Linked DNA regions of Homo sapiens: all the other regions are linked to region 4. The links are contacts of gene promoters, found by promoter capture Hi-C in blood cells and fetal thymus (Javierre and others, 2016). All regions are on one chromosome and are shown on one strand. Each heading gives the region's core, a stretch centred on a gene start or on the middle of the fragment in contact. The rest is flanking DNA. Distances are from core to core; before and after follow the strand shown.

Region 1 (4,551 bases), core at 547-3,046, 390 kb after region 4:
TCTGAAGTAAACGTGGGGGAGAGCAGGAAGAACTGGGAAGTCGCAGCTTAGTTCCGTGTCCAGTTCCACTGGAGGCTGGTTCTGTTGGCCCAGGGCAGTGGTGAATTCCAGAGGCCCAGGCCCTGTTCCTCTTCCATGAGCCTGGTCTCTGTGTTCTTTGTTAGCTTTCCTGCTGATTCTGATGCACCTCAAAGTTTCCCTAGGCCATTCTCAGCCCCTGAGAATCTGCCTCGGAATCAGACCTGTGTAAATCAGTGGCCACGTCGGTCACTTTCACTCTCTCGGTCGTTCCTTGGGCCACTGCTTCCGCCTTCATGCCCACTTCCAGAGGTCCTCTTCTGGCAACTTCTGAGCTTTGGGGGAGTTCTCTGTGTGAACGTTCAGCCTTCTCCAGTCCACACTTAGGATTCAGCTTTCTCAAGTCAGATCCATTGCCACGTGGTTGTCAGCTTGCTGGTTTCCAGAATTTGTTGCTTTTGTCTTCTGTTTTCTTTATCCTTGTAAATTATGTCTGTCTTTTCCTAAAAAAAATTTTCCCTGTCATGTTAGTGTGGTTTCAAAGGGAAATCAGGAGAAATCTGCCACCTTTAGTCAGAAACCTATGTTATTTAATTCCCAAATGCAGGCCCATTTTTCAGATGAGGACACTGACGTTCAAAGAGGTTGACTGACGTGCCTAAACTGCAGTAAAATGGTATAATCAGGATTTGTGCCCAGGTAGCTGGCCGGATTCTCAACCACTCTGCCCCACTACCTCTCTACAAAATCAGATGCTAAAGATGCTTCTTCATTGAGTGCTGTGTATGTTACAGGTGTGGAAAATGATGCAAACAGGAAGGCTCTACCATGGAAATTGGCAAATTCTATGAGACTCCATTAATATAATGGGATTGTTTTGTACTACACTTGATGTTAGCCAAGAGGCCGAGAAGCAATAATGGCATTGTTTTGTAACACATGAATTAGAAACTGCTCATGAATAATAGATTTTATCAACTGTTTCGCTGAACTGAAGGCCTTCCAGGAGAACATTTTGCAAATTTCGTTTCAGAACAGCTAAAATGACATCATTTCCAGAACAGTTTGCTCTGTGCATTGGGAACAAAACCACACACAGAAAAGGGACTCTCTTAGAGTGTGGACATTTTCAGACAATAGTCAAAGTGTAATCAAAATTGCATTTTATATTGCTACTTCCTGACATAATCTGGAATGAATGTGTCTAAGCAACCCACTTCCTGTTCAGTGAGTTACAAGTCGTCTAATATCACAACAAACTCAACGAAAAAACAGTTTTTTGTTATAAGAGGAAACAGTTCCATTTAAATTCATTCCCCACTGCTAACCCTTTCAGTGGGTTCTGAAATAAGATGTCACTCCTTCCTTGCTCAACAGCAAGAGCTCTCTGCTTGCAACTCTTTGAGATATCTCTAGGTCCATTCTTACTGGCTCTAGCTACAGGCATTAGGTAGCCACATACACCATCTCTCTTTTTTTTTTTTTTGAGACAGAGCCTCGCTCTTTTGCCCAGGCTGGAATGCAGTGGCGCGATCTCGGCTCACTGCAACCTCTGCCTCCTGGTTTCAAGCAATCCTCCTTCCTCAGCCTCCCAAGTAGCTTGGACTACAGGCACTCACCACCACACCCGGCTAATTTTTGTATTTTAGTAGAGATGGGGTTTCGCCATGTTGGCCAGGCTGGTCTTGAACTCCTGGCCTCAAGAAATCTGCCCACCTCGGCCTTCCAGAGTGCTGGGATTACAGGTGTGAACCACCACGTCTGGCTCACATATACCATCTTTAGCATAAGATTTCTTTGACATAAAAAACCTACTGGCATTTTGTAGATCATAGAAACTGAATCTGTCTATCATGACCAGAAACCTTTCAGGCAGGCTCCTTTCCTTCTCAGGTGCTCAGAAGTGCTTGTATCATCTCCAAAATGTCTCTGATCCTATGAAAACCTGGGGCTGTGTTGGGAAAATAAAGGAGAAGACAGATGCAGAAAACTTCCTAAGTCCAGAAACAATAGGCTGGCATGGTTTTCCTTGCTCGGCATGAGCATCTCAGACAGACTTTCCAACGTTTGGGACCTTGGCCACTGTGTAATAAGCTACCCATTTAGTAGGCACCAAAGGCGGTAATGTCTTACAAGCCAGGGAATCCCTTACTCTGAAGGTCGATAGCCTGGGTCAGGTGGTATTATCAGAAGGAACCAGGAATTTTTTTTTTTTTTTTTTTTTTGACACAGAGTCTCGCTCTGTCACCCAGGCTGGAGTGCAGTGGCGCAATCTCAGCTCGCTGGAACCTCTGCCTCCCAGGCTCGAGCTATTCTTGTGCCTTAGCCTTCAGAGTAGCTGGGATTATACAGGCACGTGCCACTATGCACAGCTAATTTTTGTATTCTTTGTAGAAGTGGGGTTTCACCATGTTGGCCGGGCTGGTCTTGAACTCCTGGCCTCAAGTGATCCACCCGTCTCCGCTTCCCAAAGTGATTACAGACGTGAGCCATCACGCCCAGCTGGAACCAGGAATTTAACTCACTCTCTGGTAATTGCTGTTCACAGTCTGGAGACAGTATGGAAAGAACCTGGAGACAGGTTCTTTGCATAAAGTTTTTAAGTCAAGCAAAGGGGAGGCTCTAAGGCTTTTCTCTAGATTCTTCCATTTGTATGTGGCCCAGAGCTCAGGATGTCTCAGAGATGGCTCTTTCTTCTCTGTGTACATATTGATGTCAGGATTTGGGGTTGGGAAAGACATCCCTCCAGGGAATCTCTAAAATCACCCTCAAGATTCTGTTCCTGCTTTTTCTTCACAATTTAAACCTGAACACCTGCCAGTTCCTGATAAGGTAATATGAATGCAACAGATTTATTACCTTTGTTTTGTATGTCAGAATTAATTTGTTTTCTCAATGCCCCTTTCTCAATTTTGCCTACGTTTCCTCATTCTCAGACCTTTTTATTCCTGTTTCTAACCCAGAAAGATACTTGAACTTGAGGAGGAAGAGGGAATCTTCCAAACTTTACATATTGTATACAGAATTTGTATATAAACAATTATTTCTTAAAAGAGATTACCTACGTAATTACTCTAACTGCTTACTTTATACGTTTTTATGTATTGAATTTTTTTTTTTCTTTTTTGAGATGGAGTCTAGCTCTGTCACCTAGGATGGAGTGCAGTGGCGTGATCTCGGCTCACTGCAACCTGCGCCTCCCAGGTTCAAGTGATTCTCCAGCCTTAGCCTCCCAAGTAGCTGGGATTACAGGTGTGTGCTACCACACCCAGCTAGTTTTTGTATTTTTAGTAAAGACAGGGTTTCACCATGTTGGCTAGGCTGGTCTTGAACTCCTGACCTCAGGTGAATTTTTTTTTAAGAGAAAGAAAGGGTCTTGCGATGTTGCCCAGGCTGCTGATGTTGACCTCCTGGGCTCAAGTGATCCTCCTGTCTCACCCTCCTGAATAGCTGGGACTACAGGCACCCGCCACTGTACCCAGCTATATACTGAATTTAATATACAACATATAATTTTCATTACCTGTTAATTTGAGGGTGAGAAGTGACACTATAATTACATCACCTTTTGATAACTGGTAAGAGAAAATGCAAATCAAGAAGCTTTTGAATACATACAAAAAGCACTTTAAGTAGGACCAGGTTGATTTCTCCCAACCCCAATTGGGAGGAAGATTCCTGCCAGTTGAGTTTAACTTCATAGTCATGAACTCCAGACAACTGTCAGGCTGAATGGCATCTTTAAGAGAAGCCAGGAATCTTTTCATCATCAACCTTTGTTTTGTTTTGTTTTGTTTGTTTGTTTGTTTTGAGACAGAGTCTCGCTCTGTCGCCCAGGCTGGAGTGCAGTAGCGTGATCTCGGCTCACTGCAACGTCTGCCTCACGAGTTCAATCAGTTCTCCTGCCTCAGCCTCTCGAGTAGCTGGGACTACAGGCACCCGCCACCATGCCCGGCTAATTTCACACCCGGCTAATTTTTTGTATTTTTAGTAGAGACGGGGTTTCACTGTTTTAGCCATTAGCCAGGATGGTCTCGATCTCCTGACCTCGTGATCCGCCCACCTCTGCCTCCGGGCATGAGCCACTGCACCCGGCCTCATCAACCTTTCTTTACTTGATACCTTATATGCCTTTTTAAGTATGTATATCTTACTTAGTGAGAATATTACCTATTTTAATATAAGACTGTTTTCCTCTAGAACCTCAAAGGAAAATAAAATTTCAAATGGGAAGATTTATTGTTTGATGTATCTCAAAAGTCTTGTACATGTAAATTTACCCCACAATTTTTTATAAACACTCTGAAGTGCATGTGTCTCATTTTCTTCTCTAGTAAATGGGGGTTTTGTTTTGTTTTTAGCATGTTGGGTTTCTCTAGGATGGAGGACCCAGTGAGCCTTGGGATCAGACTTTGTGTATCACCTCCTGGGGTCACACAACTTCCAGATGTGTGGGCTGACCTCATGTCGACGCCTCCAGGGTGCCTGGGGCTGAGCTTGATTCCAGGAGCCGTCTGATCAATACTCACTCCG
Region 2 (4,605 bases), core at 1,898-4,397, 430 kb after region 4:
CTAATCCAAAGGTGAGGTGGTCCACCCTCTTCTGAACGTGGGAAGATGATACACCTTCCTAGGATATCGTATACTCTTTGGTGAGATGGTTTTCCCAGCTGGGGATAGGCAGGCAACCTACGGGTGGTTCATGTGGGAAATGAATCTCTAATCTGGACTTTGTCTTCACAGTCTTAGAAAATCTTACTAGAACATTTTGACAATGTTATCTGGTAAATTTGAAACTTGTCTGGTGGGAGGTAAGAATGCTGTGTTCTGAGTACTGGCTTTTTGAGCTCTGGTGAGATACTTAACCTCTTTGGGTTTTTGCAACAACAGAATCTGCAAGCCTTGGACTGGACGATCTCTATGACCCTGTCAGTTTCAAGATAAGAAGGCTTTTCTTACCACATCTTTTGTTGGGCCATATGTTGGGAATTCTCTCATCTTTAAGTTTAATGTTGAATGATTAATTTATTTTTAAAACAGTTTCAGTGAATTTTAAACTTTGTTCAATTAAGAAATGAGGGCCAGGCTTGATGACTCACACTGGTAATCCTAGCACTTTGGGAGGCCGAAGCAGGAGGATCACTTGAGCTCAGAAGTTTGAAACCAGCCTGGGCAACATAGTGAGACTTCATCTTTATTTTTTTTAAATAAGAAATAAAAAGAAATGAGAAAGTGTCAAGATAAGTATAAAAATAAATTGTTCATAATAGTTGGAAAGAAAACTATTTAGAATTTAACTTAAACTTGGGTAATATACTTAATTAATTTAAATTGTTTCTGTGTTTCCATAGAATTTCTAGAGTAGAAAGTTTTTCAGTTTACTTTAAAAATATTTTTTTAAATAGAGATGGGGTCTTGCTGTGTTGCCCAGGCTATTCTCAAACTCCTGGGCTCAAGCAATCAATCCACTTCGGGCTGGGATTAAAGGTGTGAGCCACCATGCCCCACGTTAGATACTTTTAAAGGACAAATAAATGTCTTCACATTTGTGGAGGAATGTTTCCTTCTTAATGTTCATTTAACTGTTGAGTCAGAAAAATACCTGTTTATCTTATCAAATGATTATCTTGAAATTCAAATAAATGAAAATAAGATGAAATCTGGCTTTGCAGACCAAATGCTTATTTGCAAATGTTACTTTGTAGATTTTGCTTCCATCAAAGTTGGGGAAAAAATAAAGCCCAGCATTTCAAATAAACTATAATGGAAAAGTTATTTGTTAAGTTTATGCAAAATTATGAAGGATACTATTTTTCTGATAGATCAAGTCCTCAAGACTAAATTTTTTTTTTTTTTTTTTGAGACAGGGTCTCCCTCTGTCACCCAGGCTGGAGTGCAATGGCACAATCATGGCTCACTGCAACCTCGACTTCCCGGGTTCCAGCGATCCTCCCACCTCAGCCTCCAGAGTAGCTGGGACCATGGGTGCGTGCCAATACACCTGGCTAATTTTTACATTTTTGGTAGAGATGGGGTTTCACCATGTTGCCCAGGCTGGTCTCGAACTCCTGAGCTCAAGGCATCCACACACCTTGGCCTCCCAAAGTGCTGGAATTATAGGCACGAGCCACCGTGCCCGGCCAAGACTAAATTTTTAAATTCATGCCAGGATCCTTTTCATTAACTACTCACACAATTGTTCTGTAATCTACCTAAGCAGCATAAATATGTATTGAAATTCTCCTGACCATGACATTTAACGTGCATTCACATTTTCCAATACTGGTTTTGCTTGTTCCTCTAACGACACATTCTGAAAGTGGGAGTTCTTTCTTTGGTTTATCTAATACAGATGGCTCCACGGGAGACCAGAGGAACCACATGGGGCCTTGAGCCAACGGACATAGTATGTCACTGCAGCTCCTTACATTTTATCATTGTAAAGATACCCATATAGTCTTCTGTTGAGAATGAAATATTATTATTATTATTATTATTATTATTATTATTTGAGACGGAGTCTAGCTCTATAGCCCGGGCTGGGGTGCAGTTTCGTGATCTCGGCTCACTGCAACCTCTGCCTCCTGGGTTCAAGTGATTCTCCCGCCTCAGCCTTCTGAGTAGGTGGGATTACAGGCATGCGCCACCATGCCCAGCTAATTTTTGCATTTTTAGTAGAGACGGGGTTTCACCATGTTGGCCAGGCTGGTCTCAAACTCCTGACCTCAAGTGATCCTCCCACTGGATGATGGGATTATAGATGTGAGCCACCACGCCCGGTCTGAGAATGATTTATTAAATGACTCTTTCTTACTTACAAGTTTTACTTGGAAGGAAAGAGAGAAGATCCTTCAGGTCTAATGTTAGCTGCTTAGCCTGGGTACCACCAGCCCATGTGAACCTGGTATTGAACAGGAGGCAGAGGCACCAAGGAGGCCCTGGGGGTGAATTGGGATGGGTGTGGAGGTTGTGAAGCAGGCAGGCAGGCTGCCAGGCATCAACAGACGGACTATCCTTCCCTGTCTCCCTCCAGCCAGGGCGATTCAGATCATCTATTCTCATCCTATATCAAATTCATTACCTAAACATTTATTGAGCTTCTACTGGGTGCCAGGCAGTGCCAACATACCAGGGATACACAATTAATTAGAATGTATCTCAAGAAACTTGCAGCCTACTCTGAACCTGAAGTTCACGGGACCTTTACCAGGACATTACGAACTACACAAATGTGGGAATAGATTTGCAATTGTGGACGGAATCAATAGCTTCTATCAAATTCTCAGTCATTCATGACCCCAAGAATGTTAAGCATTTTGTTAGAGTGTGAGGATGTTACTGTTGTTAGACTGATGAAAGACAAGACCCAATTTAAAGAGTGGCTCCTCCTCTGTCTAAGCCAACCTTGACCTGAGCAGAGTACTTCTGTAATTAAGGCCTAAGAGCCCACTAATTTTTTTCTCAGCATCAGCGTCACACTCTTGGACCCATACGGAAGTTGCAGATAATCATGGTCCCTACATTGTTGGACTTGGCTGTTATTTGGTTATATCTCTTCTATACTTGTACAGTTGCCTTTAACTTTTTGAAGCTAACCATAGGACACTTCAGCAAGCTCAACTCAACCCAATTTTTTTTTGTTTGTTTTTGGACGCACAGAGGAAAAGAAGGAACCAACTCAATTCACTTTTTTTTTTTTCTCTTTTTTGAGACAAAGTCTCTCTCAGTTGCCCAGGCTGGAGTGCAGTGGTGCAGTCTCAGCTCACAGCAACCTCTGCCTCCCAGGTTCAAGTGATTCTCCTGCCTCAGCCTCCCGAGTAGCTGGGATTATAGGCGGGCGCTGCCACGCTCAACTAATCTTTTGTATTTTTAGTAGAGATGGGGTTTCACCATGTTGGCTAGGCTGGTCTCGAACTCCTAACCTCAAGTGATCCACCTGCCTTGGCCTCCCAAAGTGCTGGGATTACTAGCATGAGCCACCACGCCCGGCCTCAATCCACTTTTAACACTATTTTTTATTCTTTTGAGCGCTTGTTGTAAAAGTCTTTTTAAATTAGCTTACCTCTAATGTTGTGGTTAAGTTGTATTTAAGAAAATTTAGCTTTTCCTTTCAGCAACTCAAAATGTTCACTAAGGGCGGGTGCGGTCGCTCACATCTGTAGTCCTAGCACTTTGGGAGGCCAAGGTGGGTGGATCACTTGAGGTCAGGAGTTTGAGACCAGCCTGGCCAACATAGCAAAACCACGTCTCTACTAAAAATACAAAAATTAGCCGGGTGTGCTGGCGGCTGCCTGTAATCCCAGGTACTCAGGAGGCTGTGGCACGAGAATCACTTGAACCCAGGAGATGGAGGTTGCAGTGAGCCAGGATCGTGCCACTGCACACCAGCCTGGGTGACAGAGCAAGACTTTGTCTCAAAAAAGTAAAGAAATAAAATCAAAGTGTTCATTAAGAATATTACCTCTTGGCCGGGTGCAGTGGCTCATGCCTGTAATCCTAGCACTTTAGGAGGCCGAGGTGGGCAGATCACTTGAGGTCAGGAGTTCGAGACCAGCCTGGCCAACATGGCAAAACCCTGTATCTACCAATAATACAAAAATTAGCCAGTGTAGTGGTGCATACCTGTAATCCTAGCTACTCCAGTGCTGAGGAAGGAGAAATCACTTGTACCTGCGAGGTGGAGGTTGCAGTGAGCCAAGATTGTGCCACTGCACTCCAGCCTGGGCCACACAGCGAGACTTTGTCTCAAAAAACAAACAAAAAAAATACTTCTTACCCATGCCTGTCATATGGGCATACCTTGGTATTCCTTGTAGTGTTGCTTAATTACATCCTAAATGTTCCCAGGCTACTGTGCTTGATGGACTGGTACACCACTTTAAGAGTAAGAAGTCTATGCCAAGAGACCTTGTGGGTCCCTCTATGTGCCATATCCGAGATTTCTTGGTGGCATCAATTTAGACACTCAGTGATGTTCATTTGTGGTCCTTGTCCTCCCCAGGATAAATTAGTGCTATCAAGCTATGGCTCTATGTCTTGATCTGGGGATGTGATGTCAACAACAGTGCTGGGACAAAATTGCCGTTAGACTAATGCAAAGGCAACTCTGCTTTTCTTCAGATTGTGTTCCCTATATGCATCCTCAGAAAGGTCTTGCATCCAGAGTTTTTTGAATAA
Region 3 (4,869 bases), core at 733-3,232, 270 kb after region 4:
TTATTTTCTCACAGTTCTGGAGGCTGGAAAGACGAAAGTACCAGCAGCATGGTTGGTTTCTGGTGAGGGCTCTCTTCCTGGGTTGTAGATGGCTGTCTTCTCACTGTGTCTTCACATGGCAGGGAAAGCAAGGAAGCAAGCTGTCTGGCATCTCTTCTTATAAGGGTACTAATCCCTTCATGGGGTCCCTTCCTTGACCTCACTGAAACCTAATTACCTCCCGAAGCCCTTATCACATTGGGGATTAGGGCTCTAACATGTGTATTTTGAGAGGGGACACAGTTCATAGTATTAGTCATAAATGACATAAAAGCTCTGGTTAATACACCCATCTGGGTTATTGTGCCTTTCCTTCAAGAGACCCACTAATAGCTACATGTAGTGGATTATCAGGCTGAATTCATCCATCTATTTCCCATGAAATACAGATGAGAGAGGACACTGTGAAATACAATATTTTATATGTTTAATGTTTCATGCCTTATGAAGAAAGTCTTGCTATTTTAGTTGGATTTTATTCCTTAATCCCCACCCCCCACTCCCAGTTACGTGAAGGCATAAGAAAAGGATCTCCCAATTAAATGAAGGCATAAGAAAAGGATCAGGTGGCTGGGCCCGGTGGCTTATGCCTGTAATCCCAGCACTGTGGGAGGCTGAGGCGGGCAGATTACGAAGTCAGGAGTTCGAGACCAGCCTGGCCAATATGGTGAAACCCCGTCTTTACTAAAAATACAAAAATTAGCCAGGCATGGTGGTGGATGCCTGTAATCCCAGCTACTCAGGAGGCCGAGGCAGGAGAATTGCTTGAACCCGGGAGGCGGAGGCTTCAGTGAGCCGAGATCCTGCCATTGCACTCTAGCCTGGGTGACAGAGCCAGGCTCCGTCTCAAAAAAAAAAAAAAAAAAAAAAAAAAGAAAGAAAAGGATCAGGTAGTAAATAGAATCGAATAACATCTTTATCCATGTTGGAGATTTTATGTATATTTAAAATGCACAAAGATAGTCTACATTTCCCTCTATTTTCTTTTATTTTTGGTTTGATCCTTTTTTTGTTTGAAATTTAAGCAAGGCCCCGCCCCCGCTCCCCATGAGCGCAGCTCCAAGCTCCGGGCTCCTAGAAGGCAGCGCCACTGGTCGTCTCCCTTTAGCTGCCATCGGCCGCCATCATGATTATCTACTGGGACCTTGTCAGCCATGATCAGGTGTGTTCACGAGATCCGGGAGATCTCAGACTGGCTGTGCGTGGAAGTGGAGGCGAAGATGGTCTGTAGGAGAGAGGGTAACACTGATGACTCGCTCATTGGTGGAAATGCCTCCGCTGAAGGCCCCGAGGGCGAGGGCACGGAAAGCACAGTAATGGCTGGTGTTGATACTGTCATGAACCATCACTTTCAGGAAACTAGCTTCACCAGAGAAGCCTACAAGAAATACATCAAAGGTTACGTGATATCAAAGACAAACTTGAAGAACAGAGACCAGAAAGAGTAAAACCTTTTATGACAGGGGCTGCAGAGCCCCTTGCAATCATGTCAAGCACATCCTTAGTAATTTCAAAAACGACCAGTTCTGGCCGGGCGTGGTGGCTCACGCCTATAATCCCAGCACTTTGGGAGGCTGAGGCGGGAGGATCACTTGAGCTCAGGAGTTTGAGACCAGCCTTGGCAACATAGTGAGACCCTGTCCCTACCAAAAATACAGAAAATTAGCTGGCTGTGGTTGGTGCACACCTGTAATCCCAGCTACTTGGGAGGCTGAGGTGGGAGAATTGCTGAACCCGGGAGGCGGAGGCTGCAATGAGCTGAGATTACTGCACTCCAGCCTGGGTAACAGAGCAAGACTCTGTCTCAAAACAAACAAAAAGCTACCAGTTCTTTCTGTATTGGGGAAACCATGAATCCAGGTGGCATGGTTGCTTTACTGGACTACTGGAAGGATGGTGTGACTCCATATGTGATTTTCTTTGAGGATGATTTAGAAATGGGAAAATGTTAACAAATTTGGCAGTTGCTTTGGATGTATCACCTGTCATCGTAACTGACTGCAGCTTGTCATCCACACAACAACAGGACTTAAGAAAATGGGAATGATGTCATCTTGAGCTCTTCATTTATTTCGACCATGCTTTATTTGGAATGGAGGCATTGTTTTAAGAAAAGCACGTCATGTAGTTTGTCTAAAAATAAAATGCATTTAAACTCAACAAATCTAAGCAAAAGAGATCATAAGGGCATTAATTTGGGGAGCAGGGACATGTGGTTAAGATGCTTTTTGATAACAGTTTGAATTTTCTACGCTGATTAAAAAAAGAGAAGAACATTTTCTTTTACCGCATACAGTAGAATATAAACCCCATACATAATAAACAAGAGCTACAAAAAGGTTTTTGGCCAACATTAATATACACGAAATACTATATTTAGTATACTAAAAGGATAACAATTCAGTTTACTACTAATAATACAGTGATATACATGAAATAGTCATGTATAGCTCTAATATTCACATATATAATTAAAATCACATTTAAAATTTAAATGACATTAATTTTGAATATTCCTTTTCCCACTCATATAGTTTATGAAGCAAATTTATTCAAATAATCAGAGCCAAATTTTGAGTCAGCTGAGTCAGTTTTAAGGGTGTATTGCGTTCCATCTTTATTATTTGAAAGACTGTAATATTTATATTCATGTACGGTGCTGTCACTGGACATTTTATCCAAGACCACAAGTATTCATATAACCCTGCCACAGTTCCTCCATACCTTCATCCCTTCATCCTATAATTGAAAATAGCTTACGTTTATGGATGCGTTTACTACGTGCCAAATACTGTCATCGGTGCCTTACATGTATTAACTCGTTTATGCAGAGAAATCTGTGAGATTGATACCTTATCTCACTTTATTCAGGGAACTAAGGTTCAGAAAGGTCAAATAACTTACCTATGCGCTCAAAGTCACATAGTTCATGAAAGGCAGAGTCAAGATTCAAACCCAGCTGTGGAGCTCCAGAGTTCCTGCATTTTTTTTTTTTTTTTTTTGGAGACTTAGTCTTGCTCTGTCGCCCAGGCTGGAGTACAATGGTGTGACCTGGCCTCACTGCAACCTCTGCCTCCTAGGTTCAAGCGATTCTCATGACTCAGCCTCCCAAGCATCTGGGATTACAGATGCCCCACCACCATGCCTGGCTAATTTTTATTTTTTCTTTTCCTTTCTTTTTTTTTTTTTTGAGACAGAGTCTCACTCTGTCAACTGGGCTGGAGTGCAGTTGCGCAAATTCCGCCTCCTGGGTTCAAGCGATTCTCTTGCCTCAGCCTCCTGAGTAACTGGGATTACAGGCACTCACCACTACCCCAAACTAATTTTTTTGTATTTTTAGTAGAGATGGGGTTTCACCATGTTGGCCAGGCTAGTCTCGGACTCCTGACCTCGTGATTCACCCACCTCGGCCTCCCAAAGTGTTGGGATTACAAGCATGAGCTACCACACCCAGCCTTTTTTTTTTTGTATTTTTAGTAGAGACAGGGTTTCACCATGTTGGCCAGGCTGGTCTCGAACTCCTGACCTCAAGCTATCCATCTGCCTCAGGCTCCCAAAGTGCCGGGATTACAGGCATGAGCCACCACGCCCAGCCAGTTCCTGCTTTTAACCGCCATGCTACTCTGCTACAAGAAAATATAGCACTTAAAATGGTGAGATTATCTCCCCTAGGCATAATTTTTAAATTTAATATTAAATTGATTTCCCCCCTTTATTTTAAACCAGTTCTGTTTAAGCATCTAAAATTCCCATTGATATGAGATAATTGTGTCTTCTCCCAATAGTAATTTGTCATCCAAATTAATATAATTGAAAGAGGTTCATAATATAATTTGTACAGACTCAAATATGTAACAACTTCCTCTTTTATAATAATGTTAGAGAAGAGAAAATATAACCTTATATTTTGACATGTATGGTATGTAAGCCAAATCAATTTGTGATGATTTGATGGGATAGTTACACTATTTCTGAAACAACTGCTGGTCACTAGGCACTGTACTAGGCTGTTGACATATTACCTATTTTCTCTGAAACTCTATAAGGAAAGTAGCATTGTTCTAGTTTTGTAGATGAATCAATTCAGGCTCAGATAATATGAGAAACTTGTCCAGCACAATACAGAGCCTGGGGCAGTAGAGTTGAGACTCACCCTTTGTGGAGCCATCGCTAAAGCTTCTGTTCTGTGGATGCCACCATGTGGCTTCACTGGGCATACAGAACTGGGTTCAGAAGCCCCTGACTTGGAGCACGTGGCCACTGCATCGCCCCTGTCAGCTGACTCCTACAGTCCTTCCCGCTTCCTTTCGTTTCTCTGTTTTCTTGCCGAGTCTGGCAGGACTTCTGGCTGCAAACAACAGAAATTCCTGTAGCTAGTTTAAGCAGAAAGGGATGTGTTAACGGTTGTTGGTTAGGTGGTTCACAGAAGTTCTGGGAAGAACCAAGAATCAGGCTTGGATGTGATGGAGCCAGGAAAAGAGCCAAACCATACCATGAGTCTGTTCTAGCAGAAAAATCATGCTGCCTCCGCTGGCTGCTGAGTCCCCAGGAGCTGAGGGGATGAATGCCAGGACTGCGCTTCTCTTCTGCCATGCTCCTCAGAAGGCCTGGATCACAATGGGTGACCCTTGCCGCCTCTGTCACTCACACTGCATCCAGGTTATACTGGGATGCTTCTGATTGGTAGAAATAAGCTCACACGCCTGCAACTCTGGCTGCAATGGGGTATGGTTGTTTCACATTTTCTGCTAAATGGGGATTGAGTGAATCAGTCTACAGTGTCTGCCGTACTTAATCCACCCTGGCCCCGGCCCCAGCCCCAGCCCCAGC
Region 4 (4,180 bases), core at 40-2,539:
TTACACATAGGAAGAGAAGCTCTGAGTGCCTGAGTGCCCAGCTTGTCATATACGATGCTTGGATTTGTGCAAGCATTGATCTCAATGGCCTGGTAATTATAAAAGCTGAAGAACAGCTGAAATCAAGAACTTCTCCACCCCAGCCCCTGAGGACAATACCACCTCCAAATGCCTTGGGCCCACTCTGGTCTCTGGTGTGGTGGGACAGCGCTGTCCGGTCTGCGCAGGTGATTTATGTCTGCCTGCTTTTCGGAGAGGCCAGAGTTTATTGCCTTGCTGGGCAGAACTGCAGCTGGGGCCTGCCCTGTCCCATCCCCATCCCCCCGAAAGCAAAGATTTCCAATTACTGTTCTGTAGAAAATGTCAAAAGCATTATTCAACTATTCATTATCCCAGGTTTTGCAATTTTTCATATGTTTTTACTCTTATCTGCCAGCACTTGAAAAAGACCAGCTTTTTCCTCTTAAGAGAGCTTAATTTGCAGAGCTGTGCAGTCTTCCTATTATGTTCTTATCATCCTCTCCCTTTGGTAGGCAGAATGACAAGGATGACAAAAAAAGAACCAAAAATATTTGAAGGCCTTCCTGAAAATCCACCGGAATGAAGGATCCCAAAAGCCTGAGGCTCGGTTCCTCGAGTGACCTGGACGGGAGCCAAGGGCGGCTGGCATTAGCTCTCACAGTCCACTCGGCAGGAGCTCGTGGCTAGTGCTCATGGGACCAAAACCACCACCCCAGGGCCATGGGATTCCCCCCCAGGGGCTTAACTGGGGGATTAAGCAGCTCTGAGGTGCCAAGAGGTCCCCTCTCCCCGAAATCCTCGTACCAGTGCTAAATTACCTTTGGTATCCCAAGGACCAGAGGCTAAGGGTAGCTTGGGGTGAGTGGTTAGCTCTTCCCCCATCTCCTGTGGCCCCTCCGCCCCATTCTTTGATAAGGTAACTGACATTTTTCTCTTTGCTGTGTAAAGTGCTATGCAGAGGCAACTTCACGTCCCCTAGCTCGCTCTGTTCCACCTAGATGGCGCCCTAAGCCCCGCCTGTATGGAGATTCGGAGCAGCCATCTCCCTGGATGCCTTCCTCCCACGATCCCCAGGTTTCTGAAGCGGGCGCACCAGGACTCCTGGCTCACCCAGAGAGACGCCTTGCCCGCGGCGGGGCTCGCTCGGGGAAATCCCCGCCCACCTTGTTATTCCTGCAGGGGAATCCCCGCCCCCCGTCCCTGTCACTCGGGGAAGGGAGTTCCCGCCCCTCGAATCAACCAGGGGGAGGGAATCCCCGCCCATCCTGGAGGCTCGGCGGATCCCCTGCGCAGCGAGGCGAGGAGCGGACCCCAGCGCCGGTGCGTGCCGGCCCCGGGCAGCGGGACGCGGCGGGGCGGCGGCTGCAGGCAGCCGAGGAGCCGCAGGCCGAACCCAAGGCACCGGGATTGCGCCTCCCGCGGCTGCCGGCGAACCGCGGCTCTGCAGCTCGGGGCAGGCGCGGCGGCGGCACCGGTGGTGGCCGCGGTGGCGGCAGCTGCGCGGGGACCCGCCGGGCGGCGCCTGGGTCTGGACGCGCGAGGAAGCCGCGGGAGCCTCGGCCAAGCCGCGAGCAGGTGAAGCGACCGTCCCGCTGCAGCCGGGACGCGCGGCTCCGGGTGGGCAGGGGATGGGGGAGGCCCGGCACCCCCGAGACCGTGTGTGCCCAGGAAAGTTTAGCTACAAATCCGGGTGCGGGAATCCCAGCCCTGGCAGGGCGGGGAGTGAGGACGCCGAACCGGGGTCCCACGTTGGGCGGCGCAAACTCCTCTAGCATCCGGCCGGGGACGGGGAGGGCGCAGCCCAGGGGAGGGGGCTAGACAGAGCGGGACCGAGACAGCGGGACAACCGGAGACGCACTGCCGGGGGTACTCAAGACAGGGCCGGGACCTCCTGCTCGGGCGCGCATCCCGGGTCCCCATCCCTGGGCCGTCTTCTGGTCCCTTCCTCCGACAGGAGTGGAGGTACTCAGGTACTCCGGCCTCAGGTAATGTCTTGGGGACCATCCTCCCTCGGGCTTGTTTCATCTCTCAACCCCCGCCTCTTTGCCCAGATGAGACGTTAGACGCGGGGCGAGGGAATGCAGGGGGCGCGCAAAGATCAAGGGCATCTTAGGGCCGGTTATTGGCGTCTGCCGGGGAGATGGGGAACATAGTGATAGGGAAATCCTGCTCTCTCTCTGAAGTCGAGTTTCTCCTAAAATCTGGTTTCTCCCTCCCTCTGTTCCTCTCTCCCTCCCTCGGGTTTGCGTTTGTGTTTTAAGTCTTTGAGCTGCCTGTGGTCCCCGCTATTTGGAAAATCCATTAAAGCGCAAGGCTGAATTCAGCAGCAGGAGGGTCCAGGACCCCTGGCAGGAGTTTGCCAGAAGCTGTCCTCGGCAGCCCAAATCTATGCAGAGACCTTGATAAGGGACACTGGAGTGGGAAGAGGACAAGGTCTGGCATGGGCTGGTCGCAGAGACTGGAATGGCAGGCACGAGGGCATTCCAGAGCTCCAGACCTGCCCTGGGACTGGCCGTTGGGCAGTGTTGGGGGATGGAGCTGAGTCTGAGTCTGTCCCCTGCAGCTGGCCTAACCTCTTGCCTCCACCAAAGGTAGGGTAGGTGGATATGTTTGCCTTGACAAATCGCAATGAAACTACTGGAAGTGGTTGCTGAGTGGCTGCAGTAAGTGATGCCCTGATCTGTCCTTGCAGAGAGACCCCCTGGACCTTCAGGGCCTGTTCTCCAGTGGGGTCTCTGAACACTGGAGGGCTTTAGGGGCCTGGCATCTCTACTGGGCCAGCTTTTGTGGGTTGTGACTTCTGGGTGGTGGCCAGATAGGTACAGGTTGGCAGGTGTGAAGTGGGAGTGCTGCTTGTGGGGGCAGAAGAGAATGTCTCAGAACACACCCCTGGCTGTAGGTGGTGGTTCTGGCTTCATGAATTCCTTCTTCCATTAGGATGGGCCCAGAGCTTCTGCTCCTATAATAACCACCTAGTTGTGTGAGTGAGTGTGTGTGTTGCGGGGGTTAGGTGTAGGAGTAGGGGGGTGGCAGGTGCTAGGAGAGGAAAAATCAGAACCATGTAAAGTATATAAATGTACCTACCTTGACATAGTTAATATGCTCCTGGAAAAATATTGAATTATACTTTAAATCTATCGCTGAAATTGATTTTGCATGTACTTTATGGCAGTTTACTATTTAAGGAAACTTATGATAATTTCTCTGTTCATTTCAATCATTTTATTTTTGGAATACCTGTGGTTTGCTGTGCTGGAGGCTGAGGAGGCTTCGAGGTTCCAGGATATGCTTAGATGAAAGATGCTCCCTCGCTGCTGTCAGTTTGTCAGTTTCTGTCCAGCAGGAGAAGGGAGAGAAGCCTGCTAAGCACTATGGTGCAGACCAGTGCACATGCTGCATGTAGTAGACGCCATGTGTTTATTGGATGAAGGAGTGAAGAGATAATTAAGTGAGTAAAGTACCTGAAGAGTGGTCCAAATAAAACATTTTGGGAGTATGGAGGAAAAAGAAGTCACTTTTGCCAGAGAGGATCTGAAAGGCTTTGTGGAGGAGCTCTTAGGTAGAAGTCGAGAGGTTGATCCTGAGTTAGGACTCAGTGCTAAGGACTCAGAGGAACTAAGGACTCAGAGGAACTAAGGACTCAGAGGAACTTAGTTCTCCAGATAGTAGGGAGATGTGTGAGATATTTTTTTTTTTTGAGACTGGGTCTCATTGTTGCCCAGACTCAAGCAATCCTCCCACCTCAGCCTCCTGAGTAACTGGGATCACAGGTGTGTGTTACCACAACCAGATAATTTTTGTGTTTTTTGTGGAGATGGGTTTCACCATGTTGCTTATGCTGGTCTCGAACTCCTGGGCTCAAGTGATCCTGGTGTCTTGGTCTCCCAACGTGCTGGAATTAGAGGCATGAGTCACTGCGCCCAACCTGGCCCCTCGTTCTGCTCCTACACAACCCTTTAGCACACTCACCATGCTGCCCTGGGTGTGTTTCTTTAGGGCCTTATTTTTTTCATACCCAGATAAGGCCTGGAACAGTTGCTAATCAACTTCCTCAGGTTAGACAGGAAAAGAGGCAGAGGGAACACCCCAGACCCCACTACCCCCGGCTGATCATACTGTAGGGTGTTGTGGAAACCCTCTCCCAGAGGCTCCAGGCCTG
Region 5 (4,650 bases), core at 1,016-3,515, 370 kb after region 4:
CATACATTATTAATATAGTTATTACATATTACTTTAACCTGCTTTTTCACTGAGTAGCATACTGTAAGAATCTTTCCATGTTAGGAAGTACAATTTTTTTTTTTTTTTTTTGAGACAGGGACTTGCATTTTTGCCCAGGCTGGAATTGAGTGGTGTAATCATATAGCTCTCTGCAGCCTGAAACCTGAGGCTCAAGTGATCCTCCCATCTTAGCATCCCAAGTAACTGGGACTACAGACACGTGCCACCATACATGGCTACTGTTCGTTTGTTTGAGACAGATTTAAACAATTTTTTGTAGAGGCAATCTCTCTCTGTGTTGCTCAGGCTGGTCTCAAACTCCTGCCCTCAAGCGATCTGCCTACCTAGGACTCCCAAGGTAATGGGATTACAGGCATGAACCACTGCCAGGCTCAACACCTTTTTTTTTTTTTTTTTTTTTTTCCTGAGACAGAGTCTCGCTCTGTCACCCAGACTGCAGTGCGGTGGTACAATCTTGGCTCACTGCGACCTCCGCCTCCTAGGTTCAAGCTATTCTTCTGCCTCAGCCTCCTGAGTGGCTGGGACCATAGGCACGTGCCACCGCATCTGGCTAATGTTTATATTTTTAGTAGAGACGGGATTTCACTATGTTAGCCATGCTGGTCTTTTTTTTTTTTTTTTTTTTTTTTTTGAGACGGAGTCTCGCTCTGTCTCCCAGGCTGGAGTGCAGTGGCGCCATCTCAGCTCACTACAAGCTCCGCCTCCCAGGCTTACGCCATTCTCCTGCCTCAGCCTCCTGAGTAGCAGGGACTACAGGCGCCCGCCACCACGCCCGGCTAATTTTTTTTGTATTTTTTAGTAGAGACGGGGTTTCACTGTGTTAGCTAGGATGGTCTCAATCTCCTGACCTCGTGATCCACCCGCTTTGGCCTCCCAAAGTGCTGGGATTACAGGCTTGAGCCACCGCGCCCGGCCTGCCATGCTGGTCTTAACCTCTTGGCCTCAACTGATCCACCCGCCACAGCCTCCCAAAGTGCTGGGATTACGGGTATGAGCCACTACACCCAGCCCCAGCACCATCTTTAATGGTCGCAGAGTAGTCTATCCTGTATCTGCTATGCCTTTACTTCACAGTTGGGATTTAAAAAAAAAAAAAAAACACTCTTTTCGGTTAATCTAGCAGAAGTAGAATTGACATCACAGAAGAGGACTGAACTCACTTTTTTTTCCCTTTCCTTAGATAAGGCCTAACAATATAGGATTCACAATTACTGATTCAAATTATCTTCAGGTACTTTGAAGGTGGAACCAACGTGAAACTAGTAACAAACATCACTGTCGCTAGATGCCAGCTTGCTAATATTCAGTAACATCCATTGTTTAAGATGGGTTTCATTCATTTATTTTTTGGTCCTCTTTTCTGTTAACCCTCACGCAATGTGATTAAATATGATTAAGACGTTCTGTGTGTTTCCTTCCTTGTGGAAATGGCCAACGCAAAGGACTGAGAGAACAGGTAGCTCTTCTTGCTCTCTTTCTAGAGCCATGGATTCGCTCTAGAGCCCCAGCCCCCTCCCTGGCCCCTGGCCCTCATGTGCTGCGGCATTTCCCCGGAGGGCTCTGGCTCCTGTGTGGTCCGCATTTGCAGCAAGGCCTTCATGATCTCACCTGCGTCTTACAGCCTACTCTAGCCTTAACCTGTACATAAGATCAAAGGGCTGTGTGTTGGCGATGCCCCTTCAGAATCTTATCCAAATGGAGTCTGGGCCGGGCGCGGTCCCTCATGCCTGTAATCCCAACACTTCGGGAGGCTGAGATGGGAGGACTACTTGAGGCCAGGAGTTCGAGACCAGCCTGGTCAACATAGCGAGACCCCATCTCTATAAAATAATAAAAATAAATAAATAAATAAATAAATAAATAAATAAATGGAGTCTTATTCCATGTATTTTTGTTGACCTTTAAAAGTTGTTCAAGGACTGCCTTCATTGAAAAAGACCTTATCTGACATTTTGATTCAACAATCTAATCTCTTTTGTTTCTTTTTTTTTTTTTTTTCTTTTTTTTGGAGATGGAGTTTTGCTGTTGTTGCCCAGGCTACAGTCTCAGCTGACTGCAACTTCCGCCTTCCGGGTTCGAGGGATTCTTGTGCCTCAGTCCCCCAAGTAGCTGGGATTACAGTTGCCCGCCCACCACACCTGGCTAATTTTTGTATTTTTAGTAGAGACGGATGGGGTTTCACCATGTTGGCCAGGCTGGTCTTGAACTCCTGACCTCAGGTGATCCACCCGCCTCGGCCTCCCAAGTGCTAGGATTACAGGCATGAGCCACTGCGCCCAGCCAGTTGAATCTCTTTCTAATGAGCATATGCTAGGGAAATGAGCACAGGAGCAGGAAGGAGGAGATCATGGATATGTGAGCTCTGGGCTAGGCCTGGGGACACAGCAGTGAATGGAAATGGTGTTAGGTGGGAGCAATTCTCAGACACGCAGGGGAGATATACAAGTAGACACACTGCAAGGGGATGAAAGCAGTAGTCAAAGACTTTAGAGAAGAAAGGAGAGGCAAATGGAGTGGCTCCTGAGATGACCCAGGTGGGCTTTCGGAAGGAGAGGTGTTCAAGCCTTGCCCGCGTGGGCCTCAGTCGTGAAAGGAAGGGTGGTCCCAGCAGAGGGAGCTGCTGGCGGAAAAGGCAGTGGGCAAGGAAGAGTCCAAAGGGTTTGGAAGGCAGTATGGCATCAGAGTGGGTTGGTGGGGAGACAGGAGGAGGGGGATGAGTTTGGAGAGTGGGGCAGAAGCAGCTCTAAAAGATACTGATCTAGCCGGGCTCGGTGGCTCATGCCTGTAATCTCAGCACTTTGGGAAGCCAAGGCAGGCAGATCACGAGGTCAGGGGTTCGAGACCAGCCTGGCCAACATAGTGAAAACCCCGTCTCTACTGAAAATACAAAAATTAGCCAGGCATGGTGGCGTGTGCCTGTAGTCTCAGCTACTTGGGAGTTGAGGTGGGAGAATCGCTTGAACTGGGGAGGTGGAGGTTGTGGTGAGCTGAGATTGTGCCACTGCACTCCAGCCTGGGCAACAGAGCGAGACTCTTGTCTCAAAAAAATAAAAATTAAAATTAAAAAATCAATAAAAAAAAGATGCTGACCTCTTTAGACAGCATCCTGAAAGCAGTCCAGGGGAGGCCAGCAGAGGATCTTGGGCCAGGTGCGGTGACTCACTCCTGTAATCCCAGCACTTTGGGAAGCCACAGCAGGAGAATGGCTTGAGCCCAGGAGTTCGAGACCAGCCTGGGCAACATAGTGAGACCTTGTGTCTACAAAATAAAAAATTTTAATTAGCCAGGCATGGTGGTGCATGCCCTGTACTTCCAGCTACTCATGAGGCTGAGGCAGGAGGGCCACTTGAGCCCAGAGGTTTGAGGTTGCAGTGAGCTATGATTGCACCACTGCACTCAGCCTGGGTGACAGAATGAGACCTTGTCTATTAAAAAAAAAAATGATTGTTTTATAAAGGGATCTTAAATTCAGGGAGCTTGGATTGCCCATAGAAACACTGAGCTAAAGGCTGGGTGTGGTGGCTCACGCCTGTAATCCCAGCATTTTGGGAGGCTGAGGCAGGTAGATCACTTGAGGTCAGCAGTTCGAGACCAGCCTGACCAACACGGTGAAACCCCATCTCTATTAAAAATACAATGCCAGGTGTGGTGGCTCATGCCTGTATTCCCAGCTACTTGGGAGGCTGATGCAGGAGAATCACTTGAACCCGGGAGGCGGAGGTTGCAATGAGCCGAGATCACGCCACTGCACTCCAGCCTGGGCAACAGAGCAAGACTGTCTCAAAAAAAAGAAAAAAGAAAAAAAAGAAACAGCTAAGAATCATACATTCTCTGTGGGGAAAAAATGGATTTGGGTTTAAATTGGGTCCACACCCCTGGCCTTTGAGGTAACCTTGCAGACACAGAACATTTACTCCATGTAGTCTTTGGTTTGGGAGCATGTAGCTTGACTGTGCCAGGTTGCCTTCAAGAACTGCTTGGTTCTGGGGAGTAATTCATGGATGGGCCTTTAATTGTGTCCCCATAGGAAAACTCCGCAGAGGACCTCCTCAGGTTAACATCTAAGAGCTTGCCAGATCTGACCAGCTCGGTAGAAGATGTGTCCTCCTGGACTGATAACGAAGACCAGGAGGCAGACGGGGAAGAGGACGAAGGAACCAGCTCTTCTGTCCAGAGAGCAGTAAGTGGCTCTGTGCTCCTGGCTTTCTGTTGGAATTACTTTTTTCTGAAGTCCTGGGCGCCAGGATTAGGGGATAAATGCTTGAGATAGTATGATAGAGACCATGATGGGAAAAGACACCAGTGCATTCTTTCTATGTTTTTCTCGGAATCTCTGAGAAAAATCTGTGAGGGTGATATTTTTCCTTTAAGGAAAAAAAATGAAATGGTAAACAAGATAAGCAACCCAGGGGGCTGGGCACAGTGGCTTACACCTGTAATGCCAGCACTTTTGGAGGCTGAGGCAGGTGGATCACCTGAGGTCAGGAGTTCAAGACCAGCCTGGCCAACATGATGAAACCTAGTCTCTACTAAAAATACAAAAATTAGCCAGGCATGGTGGTGCATGCCTGTAATTCCAGCTACTCAGGAGGCTGAGGCAAGAGAATC
Region 6 (4,665 bases), core at 1,404-3,903, 480 kb after region 4:
GGTATTTACCTGAAGAGCTGAGACTAAAGGAAGGGTTAAAAGGAAAAGATTAAAGTATATAATGACTACATGTTCTTACAATGTAGATGTAGCCCAACTACAAAAAGGGTGGTGGCGGAGGTGAACGGAGCAAGCATATAAAAAAGTCTTATTAAAAACTCATTTTTAAGTAATCAAATTGTTGGTATAGTGCTAATACTATTATTTTGAGAATGTCTTATGTGGAAGCAAATGAATAACTATGTGATATTTTATTGTCAGTAATTTCCATCATTCTTGATATAGAAAAGTAGAAGACAGAAAAACCCTATAAATTGTAAATTTGAATCTGAGGGTTGAGTGGGGTGGCTCACACCTAAAATCCCGGCACTTTGGGAAGCTAAGACAGGAGGATCACTTGAGGCCAGGAGTTCAAGAACAGCCTGGGCAATATAGTGAGACTCAATCTCTACAAAAAATTTAAAAATTAGCCACGCATGGTGTCACATGCTTGTAGTCCTAGCTACTTGGGAGGCTGAGGCAGGAGGATCACTTGAGCCCAGGAGTTTGAGACTGCAACGAGCCATGATCAGGCCACTGCACTCTAGCCTGGGCAACAGAGTGAGATCTTGTTCTCAAAAAAATAAATAAATACATTTCCATCTGAATTGTCAATGTAAAATCATAAGGCACTTTATTTTTCATTTTTTATTGTGGCAAAATATACATGGAGTTTACCATCTTAACTTTTTTTTTTTTTAAGATAGTCTTGCTCTGTCACCCAGGCTGGAGTGCAGTGGCGCAATCTCGGCTCACTGCAACCTCTGCCTCCCAGGTTCAAGCAATTCTCTGCCTCAGCCTCCCGAGTAGCTGGGATTACAGGCACCCGCCACCATGCCCAGCTAATTTTTGTATTTTTAGTAGAGACGGGGTTTCACCATCTTGGCCAGGCTGGTCTTGAACTGCTGACTTTGTGATCCACCCGCCTCAACCTCTCAAAGTGCTGGGATTACAGGCATGAGCCACTGCGCACGGCCCATCTTAACCATTTTTTAAGTACACAGTTCAGTGACATTAAGTCTACTGACATTGTGTAATCACCACCATCCATCCCTGCAACTTTTTGTTTGTTTTTTGAGACGGAGTCTTGCCCTGTCACCCAGGCTAGAGCGCAATGGTGCAATGTCAGCTCACTGCAACCTCCACCTCCCGGGTTCTAGCAATTCTCCTGCCTCAGCCTTCCAAGTAGCTGGAATTACAGGCACCCACCACCACACCCGGCTAATTTTTGTATTTTCAGTAGAGATGGGGTTTTACCACGTTGGTCAGGCTGGTCTTGAACTCCTGACCTGAGGTGATCCACTCACCTCGGCCTCCCAAAGTGCTGGGATTACAGGCGTAAGCCACCACACCCAGCCCCATCCCTGCCACTTTAACTTCCCGCACTGAAACTCTGTGAGGTACTTTTCATAAACACATACATACACCACACAAACACACATAAGATTTTCCCCCAGAAGCAATGACCAAGGCAGTAGTAACAAGTATTCTGAAAGCCCAAATTACGGTCTCGAAGTACCATTTCATGCTAAAAGAAACATGGCTTGTTGGAAAAATAGATGATTCCAGATACAGGGTAGGAAATATACAAAATGAACCTGAAACATCTGAGCCATACCAGGAAGTTATCAAAGACTACTAAAACTATCAAAAGGACTCCAGATCCTTGAAGAGAGTTCCACTGGCCAAAGATAGGGCATTTTGAGCATTAATAGGGCTAATAACTGTAGACCAAAACACATAAAAGAATGATTATTCCATTACACTAAGTGAAATAAGGCACAAAAAAGACAAAAAAAAAAAGATCTCGCTTATATGTGTAATCTAAAAAAGCCAATCTCATAGAAAAAGAGTAGAAAAATGGTTACTAGAAACTGACGGGAAGGGGAGAGATAGGGAAACAAACGTTGTTCAAAGGATACAAAGTCTCAGACTAGAGGAATCAAGTTTTAGTGATCTATTGCATTGCATGGTGACAACAGTTAATAATGTATTGTGTTTCAAAATTGCTAAAAAGGACTATTTTTAGTATTCTTACCACAAAAATATAAGTTGGTAAGGTGATGGTTATTTTAATAAGCTTGACTGAATCTCCAATGTGTACAAAGACTAAAACATTACATTATACCCATAAATATACACAATTATTATTTGTCAATTTAAACAGAATGTGTTTCCATAAGTTCATAATACTTTAAAAATTAAAGTTATTTTTGGAGGGTGCCATGGAATCAGCTGTATTTTGAAAATAGGTAAATAAACTGTAAGAATTATTCTACCTTCCCTCTATGAATTATAGTAAAACGTAATGTAGATAACACGTCTCTTTATAGAAATATTCTAGCTAAAAAAAAAAAATAATAATGAGGGCCAGGCGCCGTGGCTCAAGCCTGTAATCCCAGCACTTTGGGAGGCTGAGGCAGGAGGATCACAAGGTCAGGAGTTTGAGACCAGCCTGGCCAATATGGTGAAACCCTGTCTCTACTAAAAACACAAAAATAGAAAAATAACCGGGCATGGTGGCAGGCGCCCGTAATCCCAGCTACTCGGGAGGCTGAGGCATAAGAATTGCTTGAACCCAGGAGGCGGAGGTTGTATTGAGCCAGAGATCACGCCACTGCACTCCAATCTGGGCGACACAGTGAGACTCTGACTCAAAAAAAAAAGAAAAAGAAATAATTGCCGGGTGCGGTGGCTCACGCCTGTAATCCCAGTAATCCCAGCATTTTGGGAGGCCGAGGCGGGCAGATCACAAGGTCAGGAGATCGAGACCATCCTAACATGGTGAAACCCCATCTCTACTAAAAATACCAAAAAATTAGCCGGGCATGGTGGCAGGCACCTGTAGTCCCAGCTACTCGGGAGGCTGAGGCAGGAGAATGGCGTGAATCTGGGAGGCAGGGAGGCAGAGCTTGCAGTGAGCTGAGATCGGGCCACTGCACTCCAGCCTGGGCAACAGAGCGAGATTCCATCTCAAAAAAAAAAAAAAAAAAAGAATTATTAAAATATCACATTGCAACCCCAATAAATAAGAATTGAAAAGCAAGGCTGCTAACATCACAAAAGGAAAATATGAGACATTATGTGCCTCCTGGTGGAAGCATACACCACCACTGATTAGTGTTGCCTACACAAACAAACCTGAATCTAAGCTTCTAGAGCCAATTACCAATTCTTGGGAAATGCAGTGTAGAAGTCAAACACCTTAAATCACACCTTGTGGAAACCATCAACAAAATCCAAACCTTGGAAAACTCTGCAGGACAAATGATCCAATTTCATCAACAAATATTTTGCAAAGGAAAAACAAGAGAGAGATGGGGGAAGAACCTACAGATTCAAAAAAAACTTAAAAGACATATCAAATGAAACAAAACAATACAATTAAAGATTCACACTGGGTCAGGACAGTACTTACTCTTATGAAGACTGTAATTGGGAGAAAGACTTGAACAGCTTCAGGGTATAGCTGGCAAGGTTCTATCTCCTGACCTGGGTAATGGCTGTAAACATGGGTGCCTTAAATTAATTAATGTAAATATTTGAGATTTTCCATTTATATTTTAATCATAAAAACTTTTAATGAAATGCTTATATACATATTCTTAACCTAGACATTTCGACTTTTTCCATTTTTAAATTTGATCATACCCTCCCAAAGTTAATATATATCAAATCTGACCACCAGACATCTCTTTAGAAGAAGGATCTCCACAAATTGCATGCTCAAGCACTGCACCTTACACTTTTCTGAATGTTAAAGAAAGCAAAAGCAAAACTTACCATCTGCCAGCTCCCAAGACTGGGAAAACAACTGCATCATAGGCTTAAGTCCTCGTGAATCAGTACATAAAAAGATCAATGCCCTTCAGAAAAATGAATAAAGAACACGAACAGGTAATTCACAGGAAAAATACAAATTACCAAAAGGCAGTAAATGATAACCCCTCAATAATGAACATAGACTAGGAGTGATGATATCCTCCACAGAGGGGTCCCCAACCCCCAGGCCACGGACCAGTAATGGTGGTCTGTTAAGAACCAAGCCACACAGCAGAAGGTGAGCAGCAGGCAAGCGAGCAATACCACCTGAGCTCCACCTCCTGTCAGATCAGCAGCCACATTAGATTCTCATAGGAACTCGAACCCTATTGTGCACCTAATCTAACTAATGCTTGATGATCTGAGGTGGAACAGTTTCATCCTGAAACCACCCCCCAAACCCCAGGTCCATGGAAAAACTGTCTGCCACAAAACTGGTCCCTGATGCCAAAAAGGTTGGCGACCACTGCTCTGCAGTATTGGCTAGGGTATAGGAAAACCAGCATTCACCTTACTGTCAGAAGTGTAAGTTACCATAAAGCTTAGAAATCAATTTGGCTTTATCTTTTACATTTTCAAGGTATATTATTTGAGCAAATCCATTTCTATTAAATCCTTCTAGAGAAATGAGAAATAAAGACATAAAAAAGTATGCTACAATAGTGTAATAATGTAAAATATGAGAATCATCTAAATGTCCATTAATGGGAGATTTAACTAAGCTATACAACAAAGCCATTCAAAAGAATGATGTGTACTTACCCTGAAATCTCTCCACAACATAAAGTTGTGCAAAAAGTGCAA

What was found. The method cuts DNA at HindIII sites, captures the fragments that hold promoters and counts their contacts. A CHiCAGO score of 5 or more calls a contact.
Region 1: a contact is called between a fragment that was not itself captured here and the fragment with the promoter of PDZD2 in region 4, in 1 of 17 cell types (total CD4 T cells). The highest score is 5.7, in total CD4 T cells.
Region 2: a contact is called between a fragment that was not itself captured here and the fragment with the promoter of PDZD2 in region 4, in 11 of 17 cell types (M1 macrophages, M2 macrophages, megakaryocytes and 8 more). The highest score is 7.2, in M1 macrophages.
Region 3: a fragment that was not itself captured here is called in contact with the fragment with the promoter of PDZD2 in region 4 in 1 of 17 cell types (M2 macrophages); the score reaches 5.3 in M2 macrophages.
Region 5: a fragment that was not itself captured here is called in contact with the fragment with the promoter of PDZD2 in region 4 in 3 of 17 cell types (total CD8 T cells, naive B cells and total B cells); the score reaches 6.4 in total CD8 T cells.
Region 6: a fragment that was not itself captured here is called in contact with the fragment with the promoter of PDZD2 in region 4 in 5 of 17 cell types (total CD4 T cells, erythroblasts, naive CD4 T cells and 2 more); the score reaches 6.6 in total CD4 T cells.

What each region holds. Positions count from the first base shown.
Region 1 is chr5:32,032,134-32,036,684 of GRCh38, forward strand. The region is part of intron 6 of PDZD2 (PDZ domain containing 2); the gene reads left to right. Among named protein-coding and RNA genes, the nearest start is that of MIR4279, 98 kb to the left of the region's middle. The HindIII fragment of the contact is 3,645 bases long and covers 1-3,619 here.
Region 2 is chr5:32,061,124-32,065,728 of GRCh38, forward strand. PDZD2 (PDZ domain containing 2) reads left to right here. Exons shown (of 25, transcript NM_178140.4): 14 at 1-11. Among named protein-coding and RNA genes, the nearest start is that of GOLPH3, 110 kb to the right of the region's middle. The HindIII fragment of the contact is 7,208 bases long and covers 1-4,605 here.
Region 3 is chr5:31,907,196-31,912,064 of GRCh38, forward strand. The region is part of intron 2 of PDZD2 (PDZ domain containing 2); the gene reads left to right. It also overlaps the pseudogene TPT1P5. Among named protein-coding and RNA genes, the nearest start is that of MIR4279, 27 kb to the right of the region's middle. The HindIII fragment of the contact is 4,461 bases long and covers 1-4,213 here.
Region 4 is chr5:31,637,842-31,642,021 of GRCh38, forward strand. PDZD2 (PDZ domain containing 2) reads left to right here and starts at 1,290. Exons shown (of 25, transcript NM_178140.4): 1 at 1,290-1,596. RefSeq lists a silencer at 1,244-1,593. The HindIII fragment of the contact is 6,072 bases long and covers 1-4,180 here.
Region 5 is chr5:32,006,261-32,010,910 of GRCh38, forward strand. PDZD2 (PDZ domain containing 2) reads left to right here. Exons shown (of 25, transcript NM_178140.4): 6 at 4,070-4,222. Among named protein-coding and RNA genes, the nearest start is that of MIR4279, 72 kb to the left of the region's middle. The HindIII fragment of the contact is 6,764 bases long and covers 1-4,650 here.
Region 6 is chr5:32,118,038-32,122,702 of GRCh38, forward strand. No RefSeq gene overlaps it. Among named protein-coding and RNA genes, the nearest start is that of GOLPH3, 54 kb to the right of the region's middle. The HindIII fragment of the contact is 1,072 bases long and covers 2,118-3,189 here.